Linked DNA regions of Homo sapiens: all the other regions are linked to region 1. The links are contacts of gene promoters, found by promoter capture Hi-C in blood cells and fetal thymus (Javierre and others, 2016). All regions are on one chromosome and are shown on one strand. The core of a region is centred on a gene start or on the middle of the fragment in contact, and the rest is flanking DNA. Distances in the headings are between cores, read along the strand shown.

Region 1 (2,700 bases), core at 18-2,517:
GCATGAGCCATCATGCCTGGCCTAGAGACAAGTTTCTTTAAACTGTATTCTTGTTACTATAAAGGTGAAAAAAAGGGAAATTGAAAAAAACTTTAAAATCCTGAAAATAATAATGAAGGATATAAAAATTATCCCAAATCCTGCCATCCAGAGTTAGTCACTGTTAACATTGTGGAAGAATTTTTATTCTTTGCACATTAACATTTCAAAAATTTTAAACAAAATTTTGACCAATTAAATATATATATATAGTTTTCCGTTTTATTTTTTTTCTTTTCTTTTCTTTTTTTTTTTTTTTTTTTAAGACAGAGTTTCACTCGTTTCCCAGGCTGGAGTGCACTGGCGTGATCTTGGCTCACTGCAACCTCCACTTCCCGGGTTCAAGCGATTCTCCTGCCTCAGCCTCCCGAGTAGCTGGGATTACAGGCATGCGCCACCATGCCCAGCTAATTTTGTATTTTTAGTAGAGATGGCGTTTCTCCATGTTGGTCAGGCTGGTCTTGAACTCCCGGCCTCAGGTGATCCGCCTGCCTCGGCCTCCCAAAGTGGTGGGATTACAGGCGTGAGCCACTGTGCCTGGCCTCCTTTTTATTTTTTTCACTGAACAAACCATGAAACTTTCCCAGATGTAAATATCTATTTCCCATTTTTCTTTTTTTAAAATAAGGCATTATTTTAACCATTTGAGTGTTAGATATTATTTTTAGATAATATTTTAATTTAGGCATAACTGCCGTGCAAAATCTGAAGATTAATATCTACCTTGTGAGTCATTCCTCTGTGAGACAGTGCATGTTAAATATGTTGAATTGGCAGGTGAAAAAGGAAGAAAAAATGAGTAGTGATTGGTTATCCACAGCTATGAATGAGAAATTGAAGGTAGTAGACTATGGATGACAAACCTATTCTTGGTTTCCTTCTGTTTCTGAAATTCTAATTACTACCACAACTACATGAGAGACACTACTAACAAGCAAAGTTTTACAACTTTTTAAAGACATAGACTTTATGTTATTATAATTAAAAATCATGCATTTTTGTCATATTAATAAAATTGCATATACGATATAAAGGCATGGACAAAGGTGAAGTAGCTTCAAGAGACAGAGTTTCTGACATCATTGTAATTTTAAGCATCGTGGATATTCCCGGGAAAGTTTTTGGATGCCATTGGGGATTTCCTCTTTACTGGATGTGGACAATATCCTCCTATTATTCACAGGAAGCAATCCCTCCTATAAAAGGGCCTCAGCCGAAGTAGTGTTCAGCTGTTCTTGGCTGACTTCACATCAAAACTCCTATACTGACCTGAGACAGAGGCAGCAGTGATACCCACCTGAGAGATCCTGTGTTTGAACAACTGCTTCCCAAAACGGTAAGTGCAGAACGCTTTATAAGGGCAGCCTCGGGCCATGAAACACAGATATGCAAAAGGCCTTCTAATAAAAACCACATCTGTACAAGCTCTTATTGTATTGTAGCTAAAACCTGTCTTTTCTCTTTGACCTAAATAATGAAAGTCTTAAAATTTGTTTATTTATTTGATTAAACTCTGAAATAAAGATTATTGCACTAGTGTCCTTTGCCCAAAATCTTAGGATGCTGCCTTAAACATCATGGTAGAATAATGTAACTAGCTACCCACGATTTCCTTCTTTAATTCATTTTGTGTTTTATCTCCCCAGGAAAGTATTTCAAGCCTAAACCTTTGGGTGAAAAGAACTCTTGAAGTCATGATTGCTTCACAGTTTCTCTCAGCTCTCACTTTGGGTAAGTCAGTGCCATTAGACCAAGATTTCTCATTCTCGCACTATAGATATTTCAGACTGAAATATCCTTGCTTGTCTGGGGCTGTCCTGCACAGGATATCTGGCAGCATCCTTGACCTCTACCTGCAATGTGTTCTTCCCTGGGCTTGGGGTCATTTACTTTACCTCTTGGTGTCTCCCTTTCCTTAAGTGTAAAGTGTGGATCATAATGACCTATTTCCCAGATGCATTGTGAGGATTCAATAGCATGGTTCATGGAAAGTACCTCATACAGTGCTTCTTGGTGCATACTAAGTGCTCAATAAAGCTTAGTTATTCTGATTATTATTCTACTACAAAATGGGTATACTATAATGTTGTGAGTGAGTGTGGATAAGGTACCTAGTGGGTGGCAGTCACAAAAGAGATAAACAATAAGTCGCTGTTTCTTCATACGTACTTCTTACTTTTGAAAAGATGAGAAAAGTCTGGGCCATGTCACAAACATTGCCAAAAATAAGACAATAAAAAGCACAGTTGTCAGAGTTAAACCACAACAGTACCAAACTCTACCATTTCTTTTCTTTTTCTCCCACTAGTGCTTCTCATTAAAGAGAGTGGAGCCTGGTCTTACAACACCTCCACGGAAGCTATGACTTATGATGAGGCCAGTGCTTATTGTCAGCAAAGGTACACACACCTGGTTGCAATTCAAAACAAAGAAGAGATTGAGTACCTAAACTCCATATTGAGCTATTCACCAAGTTATTACTGGATTGGAATCAGAAAAGTCAACAATGTGTGGGTCTGGGTAGGAACCCAGAAACCTCTGACAGAAGAAGCCAAGAACTGGGCTCCAGGTGAACCCAACAATAGGCAAAAAGATGAGGACTGCGTGGAGATCTACATCAAGAGAGAAAAAGATGTGGGCATGTGGAATGATGAGAGGTGC
Region 2 (2,700 bases), core at 1-2,500, 180 kb after region 1:
TATTTACAGCTTACTCAGTAATACAAAGGATCTGAGACAGTTTCTCAAGTTATAAAGGCATAAAACAAGGAGTCTATGTAATTGGGATAGAATACGGGGACAAAGAAAATAAAGCCACAGATAAGTAGATACCATGTGACCCTGTAAGGCTGTCTTCAAATTTTGTCCTAAGCTTTATGGCAGTCAGTGTAAAAAAGGAAATATGTCAGGGTGAAGTTTACATCATCTACAAAAAGAAAGCACCATTTATCCTGATGTTAAGATCTAAGAGGAACTTCTTTAATGAGTTCTACAAAAGAGAGTGCTGAGTGATACAGTAGATGGCATCCTTGATAAAATTCTTATAACCAGCATAATAGATTAAAAGTTGCATAAAATAATAGATTAAAAGTTGCATTAAAATATTTCTCATTATAGCTAAGATATAACAGTAAACACAATTGAATAGAAACAATTTTTACTCATTTTTTAATGTAGTCTAGGTATGCAGCTCTCTAATGGTTGGACTCTGATGAAGGTAAACTCCATGTATCAAGAGCACGGAGTTTTCCTCAGACAATTCTCCTTAAATGTCATGTCACTTCACCAAGATAGATAAGAATTGGACAGCAGAGAATTAAAGGTTGCAATCTTTGACAAAATCCTAGAGTGTAGTTAATCTACAGACAAAGGATGATCCAAAGGCTTTGACAATCAACCAAATAGAAGATAGGATTAAGGTTCTCTTTTGCAGATTAAAGAGCCTAACTAGGACTCCTGTGTGTTTTATGCACCTGACAAGGTCTATTCTGTTCATTTAAAATAGCCAAAGGACAAAAGCAGTTTTTTTTCTCCATGCCTCTTTCCCTTCTTCCATTTCTGATCCCTTTTATGTGCTCTCAGCAAGTGTAGACATACCTTATTAAAAGTTCAGGATCTGGCTATTTGTCTGTGCCTCTCAAGCAAGTAGCTTTTCCCCCCCACCAAGGGTCTTACTCTGTCACCCAGGCTGGAGTGCAGTGGTGTGATCATGGCTCACTGCAACCTCCACTTCCTGGGCTCAGGCGATTCTCGCACCTCAGCCTCTCAAGTAGCTGGGACTACAGGCACACGCCCCAACGCCTGGCTAATTTTTGTATTTTTTTGTAGAGATGAGGTTTCACCATGTTGCCCAGGCTGGTCTTGAACTCCTGAGCTCAAGTGATCCACCTGCTTCAGCCTCCCAAAGTGCTGGGGTTACAGGTTTGAGCCACTGAACCTAGCTGAGAAGATGACTTCAAAGACAGTGTCCTAAAAAATCTACCGGGCAGGGGAAGGGGATCATGGTCTAGAGATGAGAAGCAGATTCAAAATGAGATGTGGCCCAAGCTGAAAAGAGAAGGGCAGGGGAAGGAGGACTTGCTTGGAGAGAGTGATACTGTGAGGAAAACGTCACTTCTCCTAACCTATCCTCTAAAGTCAGACTTCTCTTTCCATTTTCCACCTTAATGTGTGAGTGAAACACTCTCTCCAATGCTCCTGCCAAGTGATGAGGGGAGGTTACTGCTCAGATAAACAGATCTAATTTTCCTACTGTGTGTACACATGTATACACACACACCATCCAAAAGGTGAATATGCAAAGCTAGTATCTTATATTATTTGTCATGATCAACCTTAAATCCTAGAATAAATTTGATTTAACTTTGTAGATCGTGTTCAAAAATATGGCCAGCCGCCCCTATAGCATTTACCCTCATGGAGTGACCTTCTCGCCTTATGAAGATGAAGTCAACTCTTCTTTCACCTCAGGTTTGAATCTTTCACTTCTACTGAATCCAACTAGTAACTTCTGAGAGGCTGCCACATTTTTCTGCTATTCTCCTTGCCCGGTGGTGTCACTACTGCAGTCAGGTAGTATACATGTAGGAGTATCCTAAAAATCACAGCCAAACCCTTCTCACTTCAGGAGTTTTGTCTCTTAGTGGTAACAAAATATGGTGTCTTTTATTAGTGTCATAGTGGCCTCTAGTGGAGCATTATCTAATGGCTACATGTTATCCAGGTTCCAAGTAGAATATTTAAAGAATTCAATTGAACAATGAGAACATTTAGACACAGGATGGGGAACATCACACACCGGGGCCTGTCGGGGGGGGGGGGTGGGGGGCGGGGGGAGGGATAGCATTAGGAGATATACCTAATGTTAATGACAAGTTAATGGGTGCAGCACACCAACATGACACATGTATACATATGTAACAAACCTGCACGTTGTGCACATGTACCCTAGAACTTAAAGTATAATTTAAAAAAAATAAAAATAAAAGAATTCCTTTTGCAATATTAATTGGTTCCAGCGAAAGCTTATTTATTTATTTATTATCATGAAATAACTTTGCAAATGAAAACAATTTTGAATATATTTTCTTTCAGGCAGGAACAACACCATGATCAGAGCAGTTCAACCAGGGGAAACCTATACTTATAAGTGGAACATCTTAGAGTTTGATGAACCCACAGAAAATGATGCCCAGTGCTTAACAAGACCATACTACAGTGACGTGGACATCATGAGAGACATCGCCTCTGGGCTAATAGGACTACTTCTAATCTGTAAGAGCAGATCCCTGGACAGGCGAGGAATACAGGTATTTTGTCCTTGAAGTAACCTTTCAGAAATTCTGAGAATTTCTTCTGGCTAGAACATGTTAGGTCTCCTGGCTAAATAATGGGGCATTT
Region 3 (2,700 bases), core at 41-2,540, 210 kb after region 1:
CCCAAAGCATATGAGAACAAAATGAGATAAGAAACTAGGTACCCAGGTAATAGGAGAATAGTGGCAAGAGAGCATTTGGGTGGTCACACTGGGAAAAGTGTGCCTATTTGGAAATTCACAAGGAAAATTTGCCCTGTAAGCTAGTAACTGAAACAGAAACTGAGAAGAGAAAGGTACGAGCTTGTGTTATGAATATGTAGATAGGTGTTCTCACGCCTGATATAATTTGAAGGATGCCCAAATGATCTCAACCCGTCCCTCTCCAAAAATTCACCTGCCTGGTTTCTGAAATTTCACAGCAGTTCCTCTAACTTAAGAAGGAGGAAACAAAGCACTTCCTTCACTTTGGTTTCAGTTAAACGTTTGGTAACACTAAACTTTATCTTTACAGTTTTGTGTTACATTTTTAAGGTGATCAAGTTTCTCAGGAACTTTTTAAAAAATCCGCGTATTTTACTGTGGGGAGAGTAGATAAAGCCTGAGAACCCTAGTTATCTAATCTGAGAAGTGGGCAGAGGAGTTGTCATACCAATAAGAGAATAAACATGACTTGCTATGGTTGCTGGATACACCAACGATAAACTCCTAATTTTATAAACTCCTAGACTTCCTAATTTGCCTGAAACTTTCTCTGAATTTAGAAGGCCTTAAGGTGACATGCTGCATATCTCCTTGCTGACTCTAATCCCTGGAGTTTACTTTGTCTGCCCATATTTGTATTTATCTTTTGTAGTTAAGGAAAATTAAGACTGTTAATGGAAAGTATACACGGGTAAAGCACGGAACTGTAAAAGCTGAGGAAAAGAGTGATAAACTGCTTGGAAAGGGAGTTCCCCCTGCCTTCTGCTGTAGGCTGGTGTGAATGATATGAGAAGGACTAGTGGTTCTGCTTTAGCCTCTCACTAATGTGACATACAAGAGGGCCCTTTCCATGGCTAGGTAGGCCTGGGAATGCAGAATCATGAGGAACATGGGTGTTGAGTGGGTTGCCCCATATTTCCTTACCACTCGCCCTCTCTGTGTCAACAGATTTTTAATTGATTTCAACTCTTTGTCCTTTCAGCCATTAATGGGATGATCTACAGCTTGCCTGGCCTGAAAATGTATGAGCAAGAGTGGGTGAGGTTACACCTGCTGAACATAGGCGGCTCCCAAGACATTCACGTGGTTCACTTTCACGGCCAGACCTTGCTGGAAAATGGCAATAAACAGCACCAGTTAGGGGTCTGGCCCCTTCTGCCTGGTAAAGATTGGGTAATGGGAAGAGGTCCCTGCTAAGAAATACAGGGAAAAGGCAATCTGTAACTCCTTCTCATTTCTTCCTTGTGCATATACTTCCTAAGGGGTCAGAACACAGGGTTCTGGCATAGAGCCTAGGCAAACCCATAGACCCAAAGTATATACGGAGTACAAAAATGTCACCTAATTTATGAACTATTTGCAGCACCACACAGGCTAAATGTGTGACCCAACTCAGTTGCAACATAACATGCAGTTTCTCCCAAGCCACTGTGTGTCATACAGATGAGGTCTTAAGCAGATGAAAAAATGAATCCCACAGGGCTCAGGCAGCTACAGCTATCTCTGCTGGGAGGGTTTCCAGATTCTTCAGTTCTGCTCCTCTTCTAGGCCCTATCACCCTAATATCTTTGGGCAAGTGACTCCAGGAATCACATTCTTAAACTGACTTATAGACTGTTTGAAGAGGAAAACATTTTTAAAAAATAATAATAAAAGTTAAAGAATAACAAAGGTATTTAGAACTTTTCATGTGCAAAATAAAGATAAATGTAGATTTAAACAGTCTACAATTATACAGAAGGGATGTTTCTGTGCCAATGAGTTGTTTGTAAGTGTATCTACTTGTGCAGCAGTATAAAAACCTAGGAAGTCAGTTAAAATGCAGATGTGAAGGCAGAGGGATTTTGTTCTCAGAGACTTTAAAGTAGATTTTGGGCAGAATTCCAAGGAGTCTGTATTTTTAACAAGCAGCCTTCCTTCTATTTTGCCTTCTATTAAAAGTAATGGCAAAAACCGCAATTATAGTTTGCACCAACCTAACACATGCTGCCTGAGGAGTTAGTGAAGGCAGCCCCTCGACAGCACTTTGGGTGACGTTGTGTGAATCTGCCTCAGATGCAGGCACAGAAGTCCAAATGGACTGGTTTGATTAAGAGCAGGGAAAAAAAGAGGGTTCTTATTGGTTTTTCACATGCCAGTAACTCACTAATACATCTAGAGAGTATTAATTGTATTATATTAATATCATATTAATTAATTAATATAATAATTAATAGATAATTTATTGTATTAAAATCAGAGACAGAAGAGATTCAGTCAAATTTACTCATCTTTTCATCAAGTATTAGAAGATCAGTCATCCTTCCTATCAGCCTGCAGACAGACTGAGAAGCTAGGATTGGCTGGTGTCTCTAAATCTGCAAACCTAAATACCTGCATTGGAGAGAGGAAAACTGGAGACATTTTTCAGTGTGTTTGAGGAAGATAATCATATCTATTCATTTTCACCCACAATCTGGGAAACAGTCATAAATTATAGTCAACAGAATTTAAATATTAACTGCCAGGGGGTAATGTTAAATACCAGAATGGATAGCCAGAGGTTTTAGAAATCTCATTCTTTCAGTGTTTTTTCTGAGCAATTTATGTAAATCTCTATTCAAATATGTAAGCTTTATG
Region 4 (2,700 bases), core at 55-2,554, 170 kb after region 1:
ATAAATGAAGAGCTACCCTTGTGTAAAGATTTTATTCCAGCAAGCAGCTGAACAAGGACTTCTTGTGCTCTAGCACAATAGTTGTCCCTGTCCATTTCTCTTCTTTTCAGTTTAGAGCTTAATTTTTTTTATTTTGATTACAAAGTCAAAATCACATTCACCAAAACTGCATCTCACAAATGCTTCCTCTTAATAGCTGTTTGTATTTTATACTTTATATTAATGTATGTTGTAAAATCAAAGATACAACAAACCTGTTTTATTCTAGACTAAAGGTAAAATAATTTGAAGTGAAAAGAATAAAAGCATTGATAAAATTACACCCCAATTGTCTCATTAGCCATCTCACTCAGTGTAATTATAGAATATATCCTATGTACAAGTCTATATCATTCACTGTTTCAAGATGCTCATAATTCAACTTTTAGTAGTATACTAAACTTAATTAACATCATTCATTTAATTATTTGAAATTCATCTTATATGTAACTGACAGGCGAATGTGAAATTCTGAGTAATTTAGTTTGATCAATTAGACAGACATTAATTTGTGTGACTAGAGTAACCTTTCATTATCTATCTCAAAATATCATGTACACAAGTATATACAATAATTTTTTAAGCCCAGTATGTGTTAAAATAAATCTAGGTGTGAAACATTGATTGTTTACAGATAGGTTCAATATTGTTAGAAAATCAGTCACCCTGCTATACCTAGCACAAGTGTTATAGCATCTTGGGCAATTTTTAGATACTTACATTGGTTGGTTCTCATTCCAGATTGACAGTGTGTTCTAATTGTAGCCCTAGAAGAAATCTAGAGGTCAAACCTATCACAATTAGGGCACCAACATGTACCCTAGAGTTAACTAGGCAGAGCCCCTCAGGGGCCCAGGCCCTGTCTTCTTTACATTTGTACTCTGGCATTTAGCACAGAGCCTGGAACCTAGTGGATGATGATGGTCATGATCATGATGATATTAATCATTACTGAACTAAACTGAGGGGCCGAGGACTGATTAGAAAGTAAGGACTATGCATTATTTTTCCCTTGCTTTAAAATTATTGATTTTGCTGATAATTTTGAGCAGGTACTTTGTCTTACTTATTACCAAAAAAAAAAAAAAAAAGTACTTTTACCAAAAAAGTCTTATTTACTTTCATCGCCTTTGGAATAGATACATCACTACAATGGATTGGAAGTTTGTGTCCTCCAAAAATTCACATACTGAAATCTAACCTCCAGTGTGATGGCATTAGCAGGTGGGGCCTTTGGGAGATTTTTTTTTATTATACTTTAAGTTTTAGGGTACATGTGCACATTGTGCAGGTTAGTTACATATGTATACATGTGCCATGCTGGTGCGCTGCACCCACTAACTCGTCATCTAGCATTAGGTATATCTCCCAATGCTATCCCTCCCCCCTCCTTTGGGAGATTTTTAGGTAATGAGGATGGAGCCCTCATGATGAGATTAGTGCCCTTATAAAAGGGACCCTCTCACTCACCCTCTTTCTACCATGTGAGGATACAAGGAGAAGATGGCAGTCTACAACCTGGAAGAGACCCTGCACCAGAACCCAACCATGCTGGCACCCTGATTTTAAACTTCCAGCCTCCAGAACTGTGAGGAAGAAGTGTCCGTTGTTTATAAGCCACTCAATCCAGGGTACTTTGTTAACAGCAACCCAAACTAAGAAAATCACCAATTTCTATCTTACTCACATGTGTTACCAGAACTCAAGCACACTTAAGATCTATCTTATCTAAAGTAGAACATAAAGGAAAGAGGCTGTATTAATTGCAACATGACTGGGAAAGAAAATACTTAACCAAAATGTGAACATGTATTCCCACAGGCTATCAGAGCATTTGTTAGGAGCCAGAAATTTTACAAATATTTTCCAGTCTTCATAACCCATCAAAAAGGATAAAGTTATCTCTAGAAAAAGGATTATATTATCTTAAATTATAAATGAAAAAACTGAGGTTAAAGGGACTTCAAGAAACCTTCCCAAGTTCCCACAGTTAGCAAATGATACAACCACCAAGATATTTTCAACTCTGACCCTGAAGTTCAAGTGCTTTCTCCCACTATCTAGCAGAAAAAAGTATCGTTAACCATATAGTCTCACAAATACTGAATTACAAATGGCGATGAGTGCTGTCAAAAAACCAACAACAAACAAACAGGTATCACAATCAGAGATCAAGAAGGGTGTAAGATGATATTTGATCTGACATCTGAAGAATGAGCACACATTTACCCAGAAAAATAAAGGGAGGAAGAACTTCAAAAGTTATCTCCTACCCTGCAAAGAATATAATGTTTTGCCCTTAGGGGAGCTTGTGAAGGCAGTGGAAAGAATATCATTTTCTACTATAGAAACCCCATGTGATGTTTTAACAGTTGAAACAGTGGAAGCTGCCTGTCCAGAAACATCATTTTTCAACTTTATGAGGCCATGTAGCAAGAAGCATTGAAGAAGGGCTGTCATGCTTGATTCAAGGTAGATGGTGCAGCTCATCAACTAGCCATGCTAATTTCAGTTAATAGACAAGTTCTGACCTGAGAGGGCAACTCTCCTTATCAGTCCTGTTTGTGCTTTGTTACCAAAGCTCTTTTGTAATCTTTCACAGATAATGCTTCCTGCTTATTAGTGGAGACTTTCTCCATAAACTTTTTTTCTTTTATAGAC

The links. Contacts are between HindIII fragments. The CHiCAGO score rates a contact against its expected background, and 5 or more counts as called.
Region 2: a contact is called between a fragment that was not itself captured here and the fragment with the promoter of SELE in region 1, in 8 of 17 cell types (naive B cells, activated CD4 T cells, naive CD8 T cells and 5 more). The highest score is 7.0, in naive B cells.
Region 3: a fragment that was not itself captured here is called in contact with the fragment with the promoter of SELE in region 1 in 4 of 17 cell types (activated CD4 T cells, non-activated CD4 T cells, naive B cells and 1 more); the score reaches 8.4 in activated CD4 T cells.
Region 4: a contact is called between a fragment that was not itself captured here and the fragment with the promoter of SELE in region 1, in 11 of 17 cell types (neutrophils, total CD8 T cells, total B cells and 8 more). The highest score is 9.5, in neutrophils.

The regions. Positions count from the first base shown.
Region 1 is chr1:169,732,646-169,735,345 of GRCh38, reverse strand. It overlaps SELE (selectin E), which reads left to right and starts at 1,267. Exons shown (of 14, transcript NM_000450.2): 1 at 1,267-1,375; 2 at 1,686-1,770; 3 at 2,348-2,700. The coding sequence starts at 1,734. The HindIII fragment of the contact is 3,955 bases long and covers 1-2,078 here.
Region 2 is chr1:169,549,710-169,552,409 of GRCh38, reverse strand. F5 (coagulation factor V) reads left to right here. Exons shown (of 25, transcript NM_000130.5): 9 at 1,671-1,770; 10 at 2,395-2,609. Among named protein-coding and RNA genes, the nearest start is that of F5, 35 kb to the left of the region's middle. The HindIII fragment of the contact is 2,152 bases long and covers 175-2,326 here.
Region 3 is chr1:169,526,458-169,529,157 of GRCh38, reverse strand. F5 (coagulation factor V) reads left to right here. Exons shown (of 25, transcript NM_000130.5): 17 at 1,064-1,243. Among named protein-coding and RNA genes, the nearest start is that of SLC19A2, 42 kb to the right of the region's middle. RefSeq lists a silencer at 2,351-2,551. The HindIII fragment of the contact is 2,811 bases long and covers 1-2,695 here.
Region 4 is chr1:169,565,973-169,568,672 of GRCh38, reverse strand. All of the region lies in intron 3 of F5 (coagulation factor V), which reads left to right. Among named protein-coding and RNA genes, the nearest start is that of F5, 19 kb to the left of the region's middle. The HindIII fragment of the contact is 2,868 bases long and covers 1-2,700 here.